Linked DNA regions of Homo sapiens: regions 1, 2 and 4 are each linked to region 3. Evidence: promoter capture Hi-C in 16 types of primary human blood cells and fetal thymus (Javierre and others, 2016). All regions are on one chromosome and are shown on one strand. Each heading gives the region's core, a stretch centred on a gene start or on the middle of the fragment in contact. The rest is flanking DNA. Distances are from core to core; before and after follow the strand shown.

Region 1 (6,198 bases), core at 1,321-3,820, 1.0 Mb before region 3:
TAGGTACTATTATCATATATTAATTTTTAAAAGCCACCTTAGTATGGCCTAGAAGTAGAGGATCAGTGTTGAGGGTATGGGCAAAATTTACCATTGTACCATGCCTGTCACTTAGATCACCCTCCAGCCTGGCCCCTGAAACGCGTACCTGAATGCTAGGGAGATACACTGAAAGAGCATTCCATTAAAATGCCTGTCAAACTGAAGGATGGCAAATTTCTGTACTTGAGGGTTTGTGGACACCCATAGGCAGATTACCAGCCAGTGGCTTCTGCAGCGCCAGGAAACCATGCCTGGGCACAGACCAGCAAATGTCATCAGCAATGGCCATTCCTTAGAATAGGCACAGCAGGGGGACCAGCTTCACAGGACCAGGGGCCCCTTTGCAGCAGAGTCTTCACCTCAGCAAGCAGAGCTCACAGAAAATGAGGGGTGCTGCATGGTATCCGAGAGTGCCAAGTTCATAAATACACATGAGGTTCACTTTGGGAATCCCATACAGAGCTGAAAGAGTGATGAGCATGATATTGAGCATTTAGGGAGCTTTGGTTTCCTCTTCTAGCAATTGTGGATAATAATACTTGGCTTGTAAAGTTATTGTGGGTAACAAATGTGCTAAAGGACATAAAAGGCATATCACACATGAGCTCCACCGGTTGGAGGTCACAGTTGTTGGAGGCCACCTTCATCCCTTGTGTGGCATAGAGAAGCTTCAGAAGCTCTTTTTTCTGTATAGGCCTCTCATCATGCCAGGTGTGTGGTATTCAGCCTTATCTTTAAAATATGGTACCCTCTTCATTGTATTTCATCCTGCCGTCTTACTACAAAAGAGGAGGAGTCCTAAAGGAAGTTAGTAAATACAAAGAAGTTCTTAAGGTCAACCTAAGATAAAGAAATGCTTGCTTGTAAGTGCTGGGTGATTGAATCTATAATTTGCGTCAAGAGAAGTGAAGAAAAATGTTAGGGTGGTGCAAAAGTGATCGTGGTTTTTGCAATTTTTTAATGACAAAAACCACAATTACTTTTGCACCAACCTAACCTTGTTTTAGGCATGTATCTATTTAAAGACACTTTATTTTACCTATAACGTTGATGGGTTTACATTGAACTCAGGGCCAATAGCACTGTAACTCGCACCCAAACAAAGCTTGTCTCACGTGGATTTTCTGCACAGGACACAGCACAGCATCTTTGTGCTTAGGATACCAGGTAGCACACTGACATTATTCTCGGGAGGCTGTTTTAAACAGCAAAATTACCAACTAAAAGCACAAAAATGAGAAAATCTGTGGCACCAAACAAACTGCAAATAGGACACTTGTTTTCTCTCTCGTTTTTTTTTTTTTTTTTTTTTTTTTTTGAGATGGAGTCTCGCTCTGTAGCCCAGGCGTGGCGCCATCTTGGCTCACAGCAAGCTCTGCCTCCCAGGTTCACGCCATTCTCCTGCCTCAGCCTCCCGAGTAGCTGGGACTACAGGCGTCCACCACCACGCCCAGCTAATTTTTTTTTTTTTTTGTATTTTTAGTAGAGATGGGGTTTCACCGTGTTAGCCAGGATGGTCTCAATCTCCTGACCTCTTGATCCGCCCTTCTTGGCCTCCCAAAGTGCTGGGATTACAGGCGTGAGCCACCGCACCCGGACACTTGTTTACTCTATGAGCAGAAACAAGAAACAGAACATCCTCGTGTGCATGCCCATCAGGCATCTCCAATTGCAATCCACATTTGTGGACGTAGAATCCACAAATAATAAGGAGCCACTGAATTTTTGTATATTTAGTATGGGGCTCAGGTTAATCACAGAAATATTTACTATATAGTTAGTGGGCAAAATGCCCAGTACCCCATTATAATAAACCCAAATCTCAGTAACAGTGAAGATGTTTCTCAGAGGGGCATGGCTCCTCTGATGTTTGTCAGATAAGCATGTCTTATTATAGGGGCACTCAGACAACAGAGGCACAGAACAAAACAAAATATTTTTTGTCTGTTAATTTATTTCAAAAATGAAATCTGATAATGGCTTTTAGAAATGTGAAGACCAAAAAGCATCAAATTTTGTTTTTCCATTTAAGGAATAGAAATAAAGTGGCCGAGTTATTATTATATGTTCCGCCCATAATTCATCTTTCCTTGCTCCTTCCCACCCCTCCCCACTTTATCTTCCACCTCCTTTTATAGATACCTAACTGCTAAAATGGGCTTGGGAAGGCAGCTGGAATCATGCCAAGGTGTACCCAACAGAAGCTGCTGCAGTTAGTGACATGAGCTATGGAACACAGGAGGTCTTTTGCACTGATTGGAATATTTATTAGATTTAGTGCTGAAATAGTCTCTGCTGATAAGCAGACCTAATCTGAATTTCAAAGGTCCTTATGACCACGTAAATGTGATAGTATCATATCCTCAGGCCCCAAGTGCATCACCTTTCCTAAATGGTTGGATGCTGTATTGAATCTATTTAATATCCTGGTAACTAGCTTTGACTTTTTTCAGGAATACTTAATAATTTTAGATTTAATCTTCCCTCCTCCTCCTCCTCCTCAACAGAAGTAATTTAAATTCTTTCCAAGTAGTCATTGCACCTGTTTCTTACTTCAATCTTGGTCTCAAAGAAATATACAACAAACTCCGATAGACCACGGCCATAAAGTCCAATTTTATAATCATGCAGGAAAAGGAATGCTTCTTGAGGATCAAAAGTTGCAGTCATGATGCTAGGATGTTTCATATCCAGTAAAACTAGAGACACCCCACCTCATCAGCTGATTGTGGGAGAAGTCGTTTACAAAAGTCCTGTGAAGAAAGAACTAGATGATATAAATGTATGCATATTTCTAGAACCTGAAAAATATAAAAAGATAATCAAGTGTACTTGGACCCATAGCCACTGGTTTTAACCATTCTGCAGAAGTATAGCGCAATTATTATTGGCAATATGTGAAGATATGGATGATTTCATGGGGAAATCTTTGAAATTAAAGTGGGATAATTTGGAGGTACAGGGGAAATGTTTTTCCCTTTAAACTGTGGCAATAACCCTTGTAATTGCATGTGCTCTCCAGAATAAAGATATAGCAGATTGACATCAGCTTCAGAAAATGAGACATTAGGTACCTGAGGGATTCAGTCAAATTGCTCCTATGAAATCTTGAGTTTTGAAGATTGAAAAAAAAATGCTTGTTTTTGTGACAAGTGTTTTGGGGAATATTTTAGGGGATAATTGATGTTCTGCATTCCAATACCTTAGGTAATGAGGAAGCTGTGGAAACAGCCTCCTTTCTTTTATGAAGGCTTTCGTATTCAAGATCACCATAGAGGTCAGTGCTGTGAAGCTAATCTTGGACGCCTATCTCAATTGCTTCAGAGTATTTAGGATTTCTAAGGTTTTTGATGGATTTTTTTCATCAAAAGATATAATTTTTCCTCCACATGAAATGCTTTAAAGTGGTGATAATTAAACATATTTACTCAGTAATATTTGGAACATTATACTGGAATTCAGAAGCTCTGGCTTTCCTCTTTGGATTTATAAACCACCAAAAGTTGGCAACTGGCCCTTGTAAAAGATTTCTTCCAGCAGAGCTCTTGTATCTTTGTTTGTGTTTTCCTTTCCCGCTTAAGCACATTTATCTTTGCTTTTAGCTGCTGCAGCCCTCTGAGAAACAGCAGTCTTCTTGGCAGCTGCATTCTGTGCAGGCTCCTGCTCTATCAGTATGACAGCTATCTAGAAGGACTATATATTAGATGGAATAACCAGCTGATATCAGAAGGGAAAAAACTGGCAGCAACGAAGCACAAAGTTCCCCTCAGTATAATTTGCAAATCTTTCAATTAACCTATTGAATCAAAATGAGAATGGGTATAAATAGTAATGATTTTTAAAATATGCCCTTGCTTTTTAGAATAGATGCATTTTCAGCAAAGCCATCTGCAAAGTGAATACGAAAATTTGGTCTAATTCTGTTAGTAAGTTGACATTGTTGTTCTGGGGAAAGCTTTAATGTATTATTTTTTATGAGAATAAAGGTATCAGGCTAGATTTTTTGCCCAGGGGTTTGCTGATTATGAAGCTGCCAGAGTAATGTTCCATTCACTTGTAGTTGTCTTAAGTAGCAACTTTAAATATTTTGAAAAAAGGAAAGAAGTATTTATGTTTAGTAGAATATTTAAAGGAAGAAAGTAAAAACAATCACCTGTAATCCTACCAGCCAAGTAATACATATATTTATGTTAAACTGTTTGTTTGTTTGTTTATTTATTTATTTATTTATTGAGACAGAGTCTTGCTCTGTTGCCCAGGCTGGAGTGCAGTGGTGGGATCTCAGCTCACTGAAACTTCCTCTGCCTCCTGGGTTCAAGTGATTCTCCTGCCTCAGACTCCCGAGTAGGTGGGATTTCAGGTGTGCACCATCAGGCGTGGCTAATTTTTGTATTTTTCGTATAGATGGGGTTTCACCACATTGGCCAGGCTAGTCTCGAACTCCTAACCTCAGGTGATCCACCCACCTCAACCTCCCAAAATGCTAGGATTATAGATGTGAGCCACTGTGCCTGGCCCCAAGTAGTATATTTTAAAAATATGAGGTCATTTTAAAAGATGAGGTTAGATGTTATATATTATTTCTAAAATTTTATTAAAATTGTTTTTACACATTTTTATGTATCTTTAAATATTTTTTGTGCAACACCATTTTGCTAGCTATATGATCTGCTGCATGGATGACCACAATTTATTTCATCCATCCTTTATTTTGGGACATTTGGATTATTTTCAGGTTTTCACTATTGTAAACAATGCTGTGAGGAACCCGCTTATGGCTCAGTCTTTGTGCCCATCATTGATTATTTCAAGAGGACAAATTCCTAGTGGAATCACTAAATCAAAGGATTAATAACTGGTTCCTTTTACTTGGTAGTGTTTTGTCAACTCTGGAGTCTCTCCTCTGCTCTCCATCCCTGTCCCTCACTGCTTCCACTTCATACAGAATATATTTGTTTTGCCCTTTTCCATTTTTCTCTTTTTTTGTCTCCTTTGGTAATGGTCTCCCCCTGTATATGGACTATCTGTAGACCATTAGAAATTGAGGGACTCTCAAGAGAGAATGCAACAAACTGATACTATTTCAAGATGACAGTTGACCATAGCTTACATGCAGTGTTCACATGAGTTAAGTCATTGGGTTCCCTGCCAGATTTTAAGTGAACTAAAATGTTTTCTAAAATTTTGGTTTGAGATTTTCTGGCATCTGCCTCTTTCAGAGTGAGAATTAACATACCATCTCAGTTGTTATAATTCCATCCCATCTTTGAGCCATAAACTATTTGATAACTAACTTCAACTCACTCTTCGTGACTCACTCGCCTCAGAAAGATTTGATTTTCTGGAAAATTACAATGAAGCAGAGATGTAAAAAGATAAGTAAAGATAACTCAATTGATTCCGGAAATGAGGTAGACTACCGCAATAATTTTTTGAAATAGTATTACCAAATTTTCTCCTTTACAACGTTTTTAAACATCTCATATGTATCAATTATATGCTAATGAACTACTTGTTTCCTAATATCTTTAACAAGATAAATTACTAAGTGTAGCCAACATATATTCTTACTAACCCCAGAAAATGTCTGTTCTGTGAGTTAATAAATGTTAACTGTTGTATATTACATACTCTTTTCCATATTTGTTTTACAGTGGAGAGGGTCTTCAAAAAACGATCTAGTACATCTCTTCATTTTGCTATAGGGCCATTACTATCAATGTTTAAGACTTCTGTAAGTAAATATTACAACCTGTCTTGCAACCAATCCTGTAATATCTAACAATTCTCTTTTGAGAAATTATTTACTAACTCCAGCCTAAAGTTATCATGCTGCTACTGTAAGACTGTACCTCTTCAGTCATTAACAGTGTTGAAATTTGCTTTTGGAAATGTAAGTCCTCCATATGGTTGATGTCATTTCCTCATTGTAATTAGAGTACATCGAGAAGGCATATAATCACTCACTGAGTGATGAAACATGGATTGGGAGAGATGACTCAATAAACATTTTAAGGAATGTTTGTAAAGTGTGATTTTCAAATCTGTGTTGAACTTAAATTCCCAACTTGTTCTCTGCACAACTGTTTTTTACTGACTTGCACCTTGGTACAATGCCATTGGTCTCCATTGAAGTCTTTATGGAAAACAGCACAG
Region 2 (6,787 bases), core at 1,762-4,261, 1.0 Mb before region 3:
ATATTTTGCTTGTTTGGTTAAAGGGGGGTGGCATTTAATTGGCTCAAAATGCCCCCTTAGAAACCCGATAAAATCTTCCCAGTAGGTGGCTAAAACTGCTTCACAGACTTGCCCACTTGTAACTGCAGTTACCATAGTATATTAGAAGTCTTGAGATAAAAATAAAAGATATAACTATTAGCTATTCCATAATAGGCATCACTCCATTGTCAAGAGTCCCAGTGTTTCAATCTGTAAAGTAACTTTGGGACGAACTGGTTTACTGTGTAGTACTCAGCCTGGTTACCCTGCTTAAGTTTAATATACAGTATTAGAGTTGCTGACCTTGATTTCTTTTAGTGGAGCATTATGATGTCAACTCTACTATTTTCTCTATTTTGTTACCCTTTGGTTTATATCTTGGCCTGATACTTAAAGAAAGGGAAAAAAAAGATAAAGAAGAATAGCAATTCCTCTAAGCGGGTCTATTTCTTTGAGCAGATAATTCTTACCAGAATATCATACTTTAAGCCACACCTAGAGCTTATATAGAATTTTTATATTTCCATAGTTACCTGAAAGCATGCTTCATCCATTTTCAGTTCTGCCCTAGTTGCTAACAGAGGCATTGCCATTGGAAAGTGGCCTTCAATCTCTTTCTAGTTTAGGGATATTAAAATATACTTGGAAATGGGTCCTTTCCTGTATGGATGACATTCTAGATATTTAAGGACTGGTAAGGTCTCTGTTTAATCTTGGGCTTATCCATTTTAAGCCCTGATTAAGCACAAATTCCTTGACCATGCCCAGCAGGGCTGCAGCTCCCAATGCAGTCATCGCTCAGTGCTCTGAAAGGAGCAAGACATGGAGCTCTTCAGTCAGCCGGAAATGTCTAGTCCATCCAGCTGTAACTAAGCAGAGAGAAAGAAGGGTACTGAGGCTGGTGCACTCCACATTCCCACCCACATCCTGCCACATGTTGGTGAGAGTCTGGGGAGCCCCAGCCTACTGGCACGCCTTGTTCCCTCTGAATTTCTGGAGCTTATTTATTTTTACCACCTCCCTCTCTGCTTTCTGTGTCCATTCCTTCTGCTCCTTTTAGGTAACTGCAGCCAGAGAAAGGATGCTGATAGGATTTTTCTGAAGAAAGGTGTTTTTGATCAAGAGAGTTAAAATCACAGAATGAAGTTTGGCTTGTTATACCTTTAAATTCTGTGGCTCATGAAGCATGATAACCAAGTAGTGTGCATGTTGTTCAAGCAGTGGCCCTTTCCTAAAGCTAAGTCATCATTTCTCAAGAGATCATGTGACTGCATAAGCTCATCATTAAAAGCTTAGTTTTCTAGGCTTCACCTGTGATTTCAAATTCAAACAAGCCTATGTTACTGTCATTTGCTCTAAAGACCATTTTTCTAAATCCCTTTGGATTTATATTATCTCTACCAAGGCATGGCCATCTTGGAAAAATATTACATATAAGCAGGATTTGGGGGTAAGAAGGGGCACTTTGTAAGTTGTAAGGTGGATGGTTACTAGCCTGACCTTACTTCTGGTAATCCATATTACCATCCAGTGATAAGTGGTTATATTTTTCAGTCCATTTCCACCTTTATGAACATACTGATCTTGGAAAATTATCTACTCATCCTCTTTTCCATTTCTGTTTAACAGTGATTCATTAGTTTGGGCTGTAGAGTGGATCAGCTGGTGTTTACGAAGGTATCATTGTACCAGTGAGTCACAGAGGCATCTACTGATTCTCATTCACTCTCAGAAAGGAGGAGTATGTAGCTTTCCTCCTCAGGGGAGTAAAGTATTACACCACTTTATAGCCGTTGTTTGAATCATATAATTAAGATTTGATGTGATTATTCTTAGTTGACTTGGGGTTAGACAGACAATTCTTGTATTTGGTTTTGCCTTCCGATTTAATGACATGCAGCCTCTGAGAAGTGAGCAAATTCAATTTTTCTGGTGCTATTATATGGCATTATTAAAAGTACAGTGCCGTGTAGGGAATATAGAGTTATGTTCTTGGTGAATTCATAAGGTATTGCCAGTACGGGTCTATCTGATTTAAGCCCTGCTCTCCCATTTTGTATTTTCCATTCTTTATCTCCCCTTTTCTTTTCGGAGTCTATCTTACCACCAAAGCAGAAATTTTAGGATTCATTCATTTATTCAGTGAGTATTTATTGAGGAATTATGTGCCAGGATAAGCACTGGGCATGCAGTGGTGCGTACGATGGACATAGCCTCTGCACTTTCACAGAACTTACAGTCTAGTGCAGGGACTAGGGAACCAAATCCAGCCCAACACCTGTCTCTGTAAATACATGGTTACTGGAACACAGCCATACCCATTCATTTACATATTGTCTATGGCTGCTCCCACACTGCAGAGGCAGACTTGAATAATTACCACAGGGACCCTGTGGTCTGCAAAGCCAAACATGTTTACTACTTAACCCTTTGAAGAAAAAGTTTGCTGACCCCTCTCTCATGGATAGTGCTGAAGACATTTCATAAATGCAGTCTAGAACTGGAAAAGCCTTGCCAACCCCCTTGAGGAGTGTGTATTCTCCAGAGGGCAGTGGGCTACTGCTGGAATATGGTAAGCAGGGAAAGAAACATGTTGATGTATGAATTTTAGAAAAGTCCCTGTGGCTGCTGTGTAGGAAGTATGTGTCAGGGCGAGAAGCACTAGGTCATAGTAGTTAAGAGTGTAGATCCTGAGCCAGACTATTTGGATTGAAATTTTGACTCTACTACATACTGATTCTAATCTTAGGTAACTTCCCTGTCAGATGTCCCATCTATAAAATAGACATGGCAATCATAGTACCTAACTCATGGGATTGAATAAGTTAATGTATGTGAAGCACTTAGGACACAGTGTTTACCATCATCACTATTATTCCTATTGTAATCTTGTTCAGAGGTGAGGGTGCCTGAATTAAGGCAGTAGCAGTGAGGATGATAGAAAGAAGTGGCCAGATGGAGGCTCTACACAGGTGATAGAATTGACAGGAATTTATGATTAATTGGATGTCAGAAGGGTAGATAAAAGAGAATAAAAAGTTGAGGGTGATTGCAGGTTTTGGATTTCATCAGTTGAGTGAATGGTGGTTTCAGTCCCTGAAGTAAGGAGACAGTCAGTGAAACAGGCTTGTGATGTGAGGTGAATGATAGGTTCAGTTTTTGGTATGTTAAATTTAGGTACTAGAGAGATATGAATAGAAATGTTCAGGAAGAAGTTGCCTGTAAGGTTTTGAGTTCAGAAAGGTGATACGGGCTGGGGAAATGGATGTAGCAGTGATCACTATAAAACTGGTCACTGAGCTTGGAAGAGAATGAAATAACCTAGAATGAGGATGGAATGACAAATAGACTAATAACAGAACCCTGAAGAACACTAACAGTTTAAGATTAGACAAAGAACCATTAAGTCAAAAAAAAAAAAAAAAAACAACTTTTGGAGGAAAATAAACATGAATTTTTAATCCATTAAAATTTCTGTCATTGAAATAGTTGAATTTGAAAAATATTTAAATTTGCAATTTTGGTATTAGCATAGGTCAACCTAAACTATGGCGTGTATTTCACAATTTGATTTCATGTACTATCATATTCTATATTCTTCTAATATTCAATTTCTTCTCTATGGAACATTAGGTAACTTAGTGGATGCTATGGCTATGGATGCTGACATCATATGAGCTGTTCCAACTACTCTTCTATATTTAATAACATTTCCTTACCTCCCTGTTTACCAATTCACTTGAGCCTGTGAAAGGAAAAACTGAAGTGGAGGAGAATGTCTTTCTCCTTTTTGTGTTATACTTGTTTCAGCATCAACAACTGGGAACCAGTTTGTTACAACATTTTATAATGATATCTCTATATTAATTTACTTACAACACTAACATAAGTAAGTATAATTTTGGAAGGAGCCAGGAGATAAATTGGAGAAACGAACACTTTTTCCATCATCAGAATCACCCCTTACCTCTCTCTTACAGTCATGCGTGCCTTACACTTTACTTAGTTAATTCCCAAGAGAATCTTCAGTTCTTCCTGAATATGATTTCCAAAAAAACAGCCTTCTACTCACTTACTCTGACCCTTAGTATGGCTCACAGGTTAGGCTCAAGCTAAGTCTCTGAGGTGGGACAATCAGAAGGCTGATCTAGAGGCTTTCTCAACCCTGTACCACACATGCCTGAAGAAAGGCATCACATTTATACAATCAGGCTGTGTTGCCTTTTCTATTTAGGGGGGAACTTGTGAAAAACTTTGAAATGCTCCCAAAAGATGTCTGTCTAACTCAACTTTCCAGCTTATCTCACCCTTTCCTATTTTACAATCCTGGAAATTACAGAAAACTGAGAGTGATGCAAAGGACTCTTGCCCATTGAAATGGAAATAGTTCTGGTGGAATGCAATTGATTATTGCCCTATGCAGAGTGACCAATTTAACCAGATTTGCATCTATTTGTAAATTCTTTGCAATATTCTTGATGTTTATGTTTGTCCTTTGGATTTATTTTTGAACCAGTTGTAATATCTTACAGGTTCCTTTTTTAATGAGTTAGTTAAAATTTATGTCCCATCTTCAAAAAAAATTATCTTGTTATATATACACATGTATGTTTATACATGCATATCACATCTGTAGAAAAATTCACAAGAAGTTGGTAGCTGTAATTACCCCTGCAGAAGGAAAGGCAGGAAAGCTTGCTTTTCACTACATGCCCTTTTGGATGTTTTGAATTTTGTGTTGTATGCCTATGTTACCTAAACAAATAGAAAATTTTTAAAAATTTCTTTTTGAACTCTTGAAAATCAAGACTTAGCGATCCCTTGACTACTAATTTCACGTCTGAAATAACTGACTTTCTATAAAGGTTTTTGCCTCTAAATAAACTACTAATAGAGAGCAGCCTACACATCAACATCATACTTAGAGACTTACTTTTGTATTTTTTAAGGCAAACTAGTAAACTTTACTTTTCAAGGTAGCTCTAACCCTGTAGAAAGATTTTGGTCGGGTGGTGCTAATTCTATGACTACTCTGTTGGGGAATCACACAGTTTTAGTGTAGAGGGAAGTGGCAGACCCATCAGCCTATTTTGCATTTATTCTGTATGCACCTTGCCTCTTCACCAGCTGTGTCCTCTATAATCCCCTTGTCTAATTATAACGAGCAGCCCTCCCATTAAGCCAGTGATTCTCAGGCTTAGATGTATATTAAATCACCAGGAGTGCTTTTAAAAATCGAAATGCTTAGACCAATTGAATCACAATGTCTGAGGGTAAGACACAGACATTGGCATTTTTTAAAGTGATCAAGGTGATGCCAATGTTGAGAAACAGTGTCTTGTGCGAAGAATGGTACTGGCTTAGGAAAAAACTTAACAAATAATACCTCAGAAGCAAAAGCACTCAGGATATCTGACTGGAAGATCTGCATAGGTGATGAAGACGGCCCAAACAGAAAAGAGAGGCACCCTTTACTGTGAATGAATATCCTTGTACAAAGAATCTGTTTTGACCCATGCTGCTTCTGGAATGGGGCAAACTAGATATGGGGGAGTGGTTTAAAAGCCCGAGCTGACTTAGTTACAGATATTAGCTTTTTTTATACTTCTGATTTCAGATAAACTCTCAGTGAGTAAAAAATACCAAATCGGGACTCTGCATATCCCCGCCTTGTTCCTCTGCCATTTGGGGCACTGAGCCAGCCTGCTGACAGTGACATCCATCTAATACCACTGCCACCATATGGTTGTGCTACCGACAAAAGGTTATATTTATCACACACGGTACAACTGGGAAAACCACATACTGTACAAACATGACCTATTAAGCATCTGTTTTAATCAAAGATTCTAGAACTTCTTTGCTCTAACCCTTAAAAATATGCTTTATTAAGAGGTCTTTGATAGAGAAGTAGATTTGTAAAGGGAGAAGTAAAAATGCATCCTTTCATTAATTTTGAAATAGTAAGGCGAGGAGATAGCCTATTTCTTGGTATTTCTTCTCTACCCTGAAAGATATCTCCTAATGGGAAGTCCTGATTAATGGCCCGCTTGTATTCCAAACTGTTTTATTGTTGCCTCAGCCTTTTTCAAAACCTGAAAATTGGTCTCATGAGCTCTACTGTGGTGGTTTGCCTTCATGTACTCATTGTATATCCCCTCCCTTTTGTATAGGAAGACAGAGATGTCAATGACCCCATGCCCAACCGAGGCGGCAATGGACTAGCTCCTGGGGAGGACAGATTCAAACCTGTGGTACCATGGCCTCATGTTGAAGGAGTAGAAGTGGACTTAGAGTCTATTAGAAGAATAAACAAGGCCAAAAATGAACAAGAGCACCATGCTGGAGGAGATTCCCAGAAAGATATCATGCAGAGGCAGTATCTCACATTTAAGCCTCAGACATTCACCTACCATGATCCTGTGCTTCGCCCAGGGATCCTCGGTAACTTTGAACCCAAAGAACCTGAGCCTCCTGGAGTGGTTGGTGGCCCTGGAGAGAAAGCCAAGCCATTGGTTTTGGGACCAGAATTCAAACAAGCAATTCAAGCCAGCATTAAAGAGTTTGGATTTAACATGGTGGCAAGTGACATGATCTCACTGGACCGCAGCGTCAATGACTTACGCCAAGAAGAGTAAGCACACATCCTCTTCTTTCTAAAAATGGGGCAACTGTTGTTTTCATAGGTTTTTAGGTTTAGTTAGATTGTTAGAATGAAGAAATAATTATTGATGCCTTTATTTCAAGGAAATAAGAGGATCTTTGA
Region 3 (6,201 bases), core at 1,725-4,224:
GATGAACCTTGAGGACATTATGCCAAGTTAAATAAGCCAGTCAAAAAAAGTCAAATACTGGATAAGCCCATTTATATGAGGTTTTGGTTCTTTACCACTTTCCAGTAATATGAATACAAACACTTCCGGTTTCCAAAACTGGAAACAAAAGGTAGAATGGTGATTGCTAGGACCTAGGAATGGGGAAGGGGAATTATTGTTTAATAGGTATAGAGTTTCAGTTTTACAAGATAAAAAGAGTAATGAAGATAGATGGTGTTGATGGTGGCACAACATTATCAATGTAATTAATACCATTGAACTGTACACTTAGAATGGTTAAGATGGTAAATTTTATGTTACGTATATTTTACTACAATTTAAAAATTGGAAGAAACAATTCTGTGATCCCATAAAAATAAAATGAGGGAAAAAACTCTGAAAAACAAATTAATAAATAAAAGAAGAGATGATGGCGTGCGTGTGTGTGTATTTAACATCTGTCCTTTCCATCTCTTTTTTCCCTATATTCATGACTTCCACAAATCACTACTCCATATAGAGTCTCTCCAAGCTTGGCTTACTTGCTAAAATCTGGTTCCTTCATTCAAATAGCTTATGAATCCTATGCAATCTATTCTTGAAAAATACACGAACTGCTGACTAAATGGTTAAACTCCCTAAAGCTGTTGCCTAAACTCCAAACCACAAATATTTTTATCTTATATTGCTATAAAGTACTTGCACCAGCACAGTGGCTCACACCTATGATTCCTGAACCTTGGGAGGCTGTGGAAGGAGGATCGCTTGAGCTCAGGACTTCAAGACCAGCCTGGGCAGCACAGTCAGACAAAAAAATTAAAAGAAATAACCACACGTGATGGCGTGTGCCTGTGGTCCCAGGTACTCTGAAGGCTGAGGTGGGAGGGAGAATTGCTTGAACCTAGGAGGTCAAGGCTACAGTGAGTCTTGTTCGCACCACTGCACTCCAGCCTGGGCAACAGAATAAAAATCTGTCTCAAAAAAATACTTGCCCCAAATATGATATAAATTTATTCAAGTCAGCCAAAAATGTTTTAGTTTATTAGAGAGCTAAGTCAAGAAATTTGTCAGAAAAACAAAACAATGAGAGCAAAACGAAAAAGAAATAGTGAACATAAATTTCCAGAAATAGATGTATTTCATTTAAATTGTTTAAAAAATTATTTAAGTAAAATAATTCAAGAAAAAGAAACAGAAATTAAATGCATAATTCTTAGACTTTAGTATTAATGATTTTGATGCATTATCATGGGTCAGTCAATGGAATAGTGCCAGTTTCCAAATCTGAATCAAAATGAGGAAAAAATTAGTTGTACATTAGCAGTTGGTTAAATAATAAACCATAAAGTTACAAATCTGAATGACTAATTTCAACACACTGTGATTAAAGATTTGGTAATTCAATGTTTTTATATTGTAAAATGAGGAAGATATCTTTTAACCTAGCAACAGTAAACACACAAAACATTCCCCATTAAAGTGACCATATGTAATAAATTATGATCAATGTTTTGGCTTATCTAGAAGTTACTATAATATTTTGTGGATGGAAGTAATTGATCCAAGGGCCCCAAGTAATATTAGTTAATTTGCTGTAACTTATTATTAAATGAAGTTACGCTGCACCCTAATTCCTGATGTACAGAAACTGATAATATTTGTTGTTTTAAGCTGGGGTAAATTTGGGGGTAATTTGTTACCCAGCAATAGACAACTAATGAAGTACCTCATCAGACATATTGTCAGGTTAATTGGCTAAAGATGAATTTCTGACCCAATATGAAAAAAATAATAAAACTTATGCATTCTTTATTCTGAAACCTACTCTGTTTCACATATCATTTTCGTGAAGGGTAGAGTTGAGAAGTGTGTAGAGCTCCTACCTCAGAAATACATTACTTCAAACATTAAAAGAAGGAAGAGGAAAGCTGAAATAGAAAACATAAATTGTCTTCACTTTACCGTAATAAAAATCATGATATATTCATTTGTGGATATACACCTAGGAGCCTTGAAAATGAATATTTTACTTGTAAAACAAGTAGAATCAATTATTTTATTAGTAAATTCATACAGAACCTAAAAATAAAACTAAAAAAATTAAATGACTGAGGATTGGGATCCATTTATGTGATTTTGCCAAATAAATATTGAGAACCTTCTACGTAAGAGATTAGAACCCAGTCGCTGAGAAACAAATAAAAGACAAGTTTGACAAGTTTTATAACCCAAGTTTGACTACTGTAGCAGCTAGCAATCCATCGTGATCTTAACTATACTTGTGTTTGCATTCATATTACTGGAAAGTGGTAAAGAACCAAAAACTGTCTAGGAACCAAAATAACACTCGACCCGAAAACCAACACTTGGACCTGAAGAAAGTAACCCTTGTCATTTCTCAGGTTTATTTCACAATGACGCTGGGTTACTACTTGGAGTCCTAAACCGAACTACACCCCAATGGCCTAGAAACAGAAGGAACACACCCAGTTCCGCCTCCTGACAGTGATTCCTCACTTTAATGAGCCACCACTACTGTCACTCAAGATGCTTCGCACTGTCATTGGTCGCAAACTCTTGCTGGTCGGCCAGTTTCGGCCAACTGGCAAGCACTGGTTGTCTTTATTTTCGAGAAAAGTGAAGGTGAACAGGGAAAAGAGACAAGAGATCTAAAATATCTAGGTTGACTCCTGTACCTGAGCGACCTGCGATCTCCACCGCCGCCGCGACGAATTGGCCTCTGGGCGGGGACTTTTAGCCAAAAGGAAAATGGCTCAGCCGGGAACTGGTGCCCAGGCCATGGAGAAGCTGATTCAAACTTTACTTGTCCACACCGGTAGAGGTGACCGCGATGAGAATACCAGAAACAGCACTACGACCCTCAGAACTCAGGGTACCTCCAGCTGCAGGGGCCAGAACTGCCGACTATCCCAATTTTGACGTTTCCTATTGTTGCCGGAAGTGACGTTAGGCTCCGACTCTTAACGGAGACGCATTTTTATTTCTGTTGTTTACGATTCGCTATAGATTCCTTGTTTCTCACTTCGTAGCACGAGCCACTCTGACCATCAAGATCAGAAAAACTTCTCAGCTGCAAGTTAGAAGTGGACTGGCCATTGAGGAGGCTCTCAGCGGAGTCGCTCTTCACAGGAGTCTTGAACGCGGTGTGGAATCGGCAGCGAGGAATCCTGGAGCACAGAGAAGCTCCCAGCTTTGAAGGTCTTGCGGTGGTGCGTGGCGGGCAGGAACCCACAATTCCAAATACAAACGGTCGGCGCGAGAAGCGCTTCTGGGCGCAGGCGCCTGGCTGTAGCGACTGGTTGCGGGAGGCTGGACTCTGGTGACTGTGTATGGTTGCATATGCTCCGTTTTCCTCTCCCTGTCGTGCTGGGCCTTTGAAACCGGCTTCTTTGCTGGTGGCTGCTTGGTGAGCCCCGAGGAGACGGCAAGGCTGCGCCTGGTATTGGGCGGAGGTCGCCTCTCTCCGCCGTCCTTACAGAGACCCCGGGCGGAGACGAATGACCAGATCCGCCTTTTCATTCTTTTAAATCAAATGGCGGGAGGGGAGCCTTGCTTATATACCCAACTAGTATATGCTTTTAGTCACAACGAAGTGGGAAGTATCGTGGTAGCTCATCCTATCAGAATTAGGTTGTGACTTAGGGTTGGAAAGTTATAGGCTTACTGATTCCTATTGGATCCTCTGGGGTGAGGATACAAACGGCTCCTGACTATAAGGAAGACAGGACAGCAGTTCGTGTTTTCCTTGTTGGCATTTCCCCAGCTTTTCAAATATTTCTCCACCTTTATTGAAGGCTACAGATTTTTCCCTCACTGTAACAAGTTAATCTTGAAGTTGTTATTCTCTTTTACTCTGGAATTATGGCCATGCTAGACTGTTTTTTTCCCGAATTATCTGCAGACCTTTTAATTTTATGTGTGAACACAGCAGTCCCGTTGAACTCTTTACTTGTCCCTTACTCCTCCCCACTCCCGCCCAGCTTTCTCGATGCTTTGCCTTTCTCAGACCTTTCTCCTATCTCTTAGAGAAGTATTTCCCTAATATCTTTTGCAGTTTCATAAACTGTTTTTCTCATCTTTACTTTTTTGTTTTTGATACGTGTTTTTAGATAATATCGAGCATTATGTGCTATGTCACAAACTCTTAGCCATTGACTGTTATTAGAGTCAGTGTAGTTGCTTCATTCTAAACAAAAATCACTCTGGTCCAGTGACATTCTATTGGGAGGCATTGTTTTAATGACCTCTAACAGCAATGAGATTGAGCGATGTTGAAAATCCTAAACTGCTAGAGTACACTATTTTCACAACCTCTCCCACAAGTTCAATTGCGCAGATCTGACTTGTAGACAAGGAAGGAAGCTAGAAAGGAATATTGAGAGCTTCTTTATTATTGAATCTATGCTGCAAGCTGAGTGGTATCTCCTTTTTTCCTTAGTTTGCCTTTGATCAGTGCTATAAGTTGAAAATGTTAAATTTTTAAAAGTATTTTTCATTAATGAAAGTAAGGTGTTAAAATGTACATAAGTAATAGATTGGCTTCTTTTAATGTCTTGTTTTTAAGGCTTTTGAATTTTATAGTAGACTTAGTAAAGCCCTTTGTGAGAATGTAGAGCAGTAGCTGTAATTTTATTCTGTGATAATCCCAATTTTAAATCCCTTTATTTTTCTGTCTCCTATCACTTACCTCGTTCACGAGCTCTGCTTGTATTACTCTTCAAAATATTTATTCACTGGTACTGAAGAGAGACATAACTTTGTTGTCAGAAATTCCATTATCAGAGGTAGAAATCATGTAAGAGACACTGAAATGTTTTCCAAAATGTCAGAAAAAGGAAAGGTGAGAAGATATCATAAAGTGTTACGTAAAACAGAATTACTTGCACTGGGAAAATGGAATATACATCTGGAAGGACTAAAGGAAGTCTGGAAAGACATAGAATTTACATTAAAGTTACTGGGAAGAAGGTATCCCTAGAAGAATTGTGTTACGATAGATGGGTCTGGAACCCGAAAGAAGCTCAGACCTACTATATTGGCCAGTGGCAAAATCCAAGAATACATTTTTTGCGGTTAAAGCCAGAGTAGTCCTCACTTCATGTTTTTCAGGAAAGTAAAGGCTTATCTTGGGAAATCCCTTTTAGGCTTCCGTGTGTCCATCTACCCCCAGTCAGTCTAAAGGATATTAAATAGGGTTTACCTTCTTGGCCAGTGTTTTGTATAATGTGATTTCAGGATGACTTTCTCTTTTTCTAGTTATCTCCCATTTGACAGTACCTAAAATTATCTCTGTCTAGAAATGTAAATGTTTAGTTGAAGTAATTTATTGGCTGAAAAATAGTGACTAAAATGTGCATGCACAAGTCTATAAAGTATATTCAATAAGCTGTTGCCTACCATGTTGATAAAGGAGACTAGGAACAGAAAGGTAGGTTCATAAAGAGGGAGCAGTTGCTCTACCCTGGGGAAATGGCTGTGGAAATGAGTGGCGAGGGGCTTAAAGTAGGAAGCTTACTAAATTTAGGATTTTGTAAATCGGTGACCTTCTTACCTTTCCTTATTTAAAGATAGAGAAACGGTGTGTAAAGGGATGATTTGTATCCTGGACAGCTGGGTAATGCGAATTGGAGGAAAAGATCACACTAACCCAGCTTCACCTGATTTATGAATTGTTCTGTTTTCATTTTAATATAATGACTTCATTTTAATGTGATAACTTCATTTTAAAGGAGCTTCATTCTCAAAGGGTTCATTACTCAAGGTATTGTTATGTATTACTTTTCTTCTATGAAGTGTCCATGGACAGTTGTGGTAGATGTTTTTATGTAAGTTATTGAGTTTCACGTTACTGGCTGACTAGACTTTTATAGTTCAGAAACTTACCTCCTTCCAGCAAAGGTTCTTAATCGTTTATATACCTATTTATGACTCTTCTTTGGGAAAAATCTCCTTTGATAATCTAATGAAAGTCCCACTCCATGCAAGAAAATTAGTCATTTAGAAATAAATTCCATGCTATTACTTTTGGGGCAGTTTTTAAAAAATGAATCATTTTGTTTAAAGTCTCAGTTCGTTCAAATCTTTTGGTTCACGTATGTGTTTTTCTGTTGTGTACATTCTTCAGAGTCATATTCCTGTTTCATAGGCCCCATGTATGTC
Region 4 (2,875 bases), core at 367-2,866, 1.1 Mb before region 3:
AAGACTTAACATAATTAACATTAAGAGGAATGCTTAGGTATCAGAAGAGCAAGAAAGACCCTTTTATTGGCTTCCCAGGTAAATAGTAATACAAGCAATTTAAAGTGTAGCTTATAAATAATAAGAGCATAAATAAGGGATTATTGCCTTCCTTTAATAAAGACTAACCTAGGAGCTTTTAAGGTACAGTGCTAGAAGGACAAATCCTGTAGGGAGGATTCTGACTCCTGAGTTTCTCCTCCCCCTTGTGGTTCTTTTACTTCGATGACTATTGCATATATTCCACCCATGGTGAGATCTCTGCTTCTCTTTAATGCTGATCTACACATGGACTTTTTTGGATCCCTTTAAATAGCCTGAACGATCCAGTTTACCAGGTATGGGTTCTGCCTCTACTCCAGCAAGCTTGTACCTGTGGCTCCATTCACCCTGTGCCACTTTTTGTCTTGAACTATGAATATGTCATACACTAAATTCTGTTACAGCCTTGACAACTTGGGATGGTCCTTTCTCATCTGCACTATTTCCTTGTTTTAGGTCTGTCCACCTGTGGAGTCAAGACAAAAGAAACATGTTTCTTATTTCCTTCCCATCTCTGGGCCTCTTGCCCTTTCTCTGAAGTGAATGATGTGAAAAATGACCTTACATTTCCGATCATATTCTGTTGTGTGATTTTAAATATTGATTTATTTGAACATTTTTGAGTGCCAATTATATACCAGGCATGGTACTAGTTGTTAAGGAAATACTCCTTGTCCTTAATCTCATGGATCTTGTAAAAACCACACAGCAATCAAACCTCGATAAATATATAAATAAAAATTGTGCTACTGCTTTCATAGTGAAAACCATAGGGGGCAAGAAAATGGAGGAATTTGGTCATAAAAGCCTTACTTGAAGAAATGACTATTAGCAGTAGCAAATCCACACAGGTCTGAAGCAACTCGATTCTTACCTCCTGTGGGAAAGAATTTATTGGAGGGGCATAAGGCAGAGTGAGAGACCGAGGCAAATTTTTGAGCAGGAGTGAGAGTATTAAAAAGCTTTAGAGCAGGAACGGAAGGAAGTACACTTTGAAGAAGGCCATGTGGGCTACTTGAGAAATCCAAGTACCTCGTCTGACCCTGGACTTGGGGTTTTATACATTGGCATGATTCCAGGGTTTGCGTTTCTTCTCCCGTGATTCTTCCCTTGGGGTGGGCTGTCTGCATGCGCAGTGGCCTGCCAGCAGCGGGGAGGGGCTGCCTGCAGTGTGTTTACTGAAGTTTTACTCATGCTCACTTGAGGCATTTTTCCCTTACAATTTGAGCCTTCCTAGAGGAAGGGCATATACTAGTTAAAAGCTGCCATTTTGCCTATTAGTGCACATGCTGGAGCCCACTTGCCCAACTCCTGAGATCTTAGTGGGAACCTGCTGATAACCAGCTTTAGGTGTTTTCTATCTAATGGGAGACTGCCTTTCCATGGTGTTGGCGCGACCAATTATTATTTCAGAGAGACAGTTTAACAACGGCCTGACCATCACCTGATGGCCGCCTGACATTCCTGGTGGTGGGGGGCCTTTCCTGCCCTGCTCATGTCTGCCTAGCTGCCTACTCTGACTTTTGAGGCGAAATCTGAACATTTCAAGAAAAGTAGTTAATCTGGAAGTGGGTGGCAGCATTCTTGAGAAGGAGCATTTGGGCAAAGGTCCTGAGGCAGGAGGTAGCATGAGTGAAATAGTGAGAAACTAGGAGATAAATATTGTTGGAACGTGGAGAATGACAAGTAGAATGATGCCACACAGGAAAGCATGGGTCTCGTAGTCCATGCTAAGGAGGAGATCTTAAGTGCGGTGAGAAGCCGTTGAAAGATTTTAAGTAGGGAAGAGTGGATTTGTGTTTTGAAAAGATCACTCTGGCTGCCTACAGAAAGTATGTATTTGTCTATAGAACAGGTAGCAGGAGTCCTGGTGGGGGTCATCATTATTCAGGTGGGACATAATCCTTGCTTAGATTGGCAGGGCGGTGGTAGAGATAGAAAAAAATAAATTGATTCAAGAGCTCCTAAAGATGCAAAGGCATCAGGATTTGGCTATTGGATATGGTAGTGAAGGTGTCAGGAGGCCTAGGATGATAGATTATTTGTTTCATTATGGAAAGTTCTCAAAGCAAAATGTATACCTTCTTGTATTGTATTTTATGATTATGGGAAGCTTTTTTTTTTTTAGTCTTTGCCCTCTGGATATTTTAAGGTCAGCATTTATTAAGATTATCTGCTTGGACTTGCAAAGCACAGAAAGTTCCTTTAATTAAATAAATTATGTCCCAGACTAACACCATTTATCCCAGGTTTTAGCCCTGAGTGACTGTCTACAGTTGACCCATAAGCCTCTGAAAATAAAGGTTTTTAAAGGAAATGTTGACAGATCCATTAAAACAGCAGTCCCCCACCTTTTTAGCACCAGGGACTGGTTTTGTCAAAGACAATTATTCCACAGACTGGGGGAGTTGGGTTGGGTGGGGGATGGTTTGGGGATGAAACTGTTCCGCCTCAGATCATTAGGTATTAGATTCTCATAAGGAGTGTGCAACCCGGATCCCTTGCATGCAGTTCACAATAGGGTTTATGCTCCATGACCCAGGGTTGGGGACCCCTGCATTAAAACATTCAGTACTGGTGAGAAGCTGTGTGTAAACTAATGACTCTCTGGATATGCAAATGCAACTTTAGTCAAGTCATTAATGCCACTTAGGTTCAGGGTGTATATAATAGGACTAATTCAGGAACTAGTAGGCCAAGAGGTTTTATGTGATAGGCAAGCTAACAGGTTTGAAAGGAATATAGCTTAAATGAGGATTAGTGGCTGAACTGATTACCCTGGCAGTCAAGTTCC

Evidence for each region. The method cuts DNA at HindIII sites, captures the fragments that hold promoters and counts their contacts. A CHiCAGO score of 5 or more calls a contact.
Region 1: a fragment that was not itself captured here is called in contact with the fragment with the promoter of FBXO8 in region 3 in 5 of 17 cell types (non-activated CD4 T cells, fetal thymus, total CD4 T cells and 2 more); the score reaches 12.5 in non-activated CD4 T cells.
Region 2: a fragment that was not itself captured here is called in contact with the fragment with the promoter of FBXO8 in region 3 in 7 of 17 cell types (naive CD4 T cells, fetal thymus, naive CD8 T cells and 4 more); the score reaches 8.0 in naive CD4 T cells.
Region 4: a fragment that was not itself captured here is called in contact with the fragment with the promoter of FBXO8 in region 3 in 8 of 17 cell types (naive CD8 T cells, activated CD4 T cells, total B cells and 5 more); the score reaches 15.4 in naive CD8 T cells.

The regions. Positions count from the first base shown.
Region 1 is chr4:173,267,198-173,273,395 of GRCh38, forward strand. All of the region lies in intron 2 of GALNT7 (polypeptide N-acetylgalactosaminyltransferase 7), which reads left to right. It overlaps LOC124900812 (a long non-coding RNA gene), which reads right to left. Exons shown (of 3, transcript XR_007058367.1): 2 at 1-6,198. It overlaps MIR548T (microRNA 548t), which reads left to right and starts at 963; the gene lies at 963-1,036. The HindIII fragment of the contact is 2,850 bases long and covers 1,146-3,995 here.
Region 2 is chr4:173,241,786-173,248,572 of GRCh38, forward strand. GALNT7 (polypeptide N-acetylgalactosaminyltransferase 7) reads left to right here. Exons shown (of 12, transcript NM_017423.3): 2 at 6,195-6,655. Among named protein-coding and RNA genes, the nearest start is that of MIR548T, 23 kb to the right of the region's middle. RefSeq lists silencers at 5,091-5,140, 5,161-5,230. The HindIII fragment of the contact is 3,403 bases long and covers 1,311-4,713 here.
Region 3 is chr4:174,280,693-174,286,893 of GRCh38, forward strand. FBXO8 (F-box protein 8) reads right to left here and starts at 2,975. Exons shown (of 6, transcript NM_012180.3): 1 at 2,718-2,975. It overlaps CEP44 (centrosomal protein 44), which reads left to right and starts at 3,219. Exons shown (of 12, transcript NM_001040157.3): 1 at 3,219-3,251. RefSeq lists an enhancer at 3,170-3,419 and a silencer at 3,184-3,451. The HindIII fragment of the contact is 4,999 bases long and covers 552-5,550 here.
Region 4 is chr4:173,171,049-173,173,923 of GRCh38, forward strand. All of the region lies in intron 1 of GALNT7 (polypeptide N-acetylgalactosaminyltransferase 7), which reads left to right. Among named protein-coding and RNA genes, the nearest start is that of GALNT7-DT, 2.8 kb to the left of the region's middle. The HindIII fragment of the contact is 1,151 bases long and covers 1,042-2,192 here.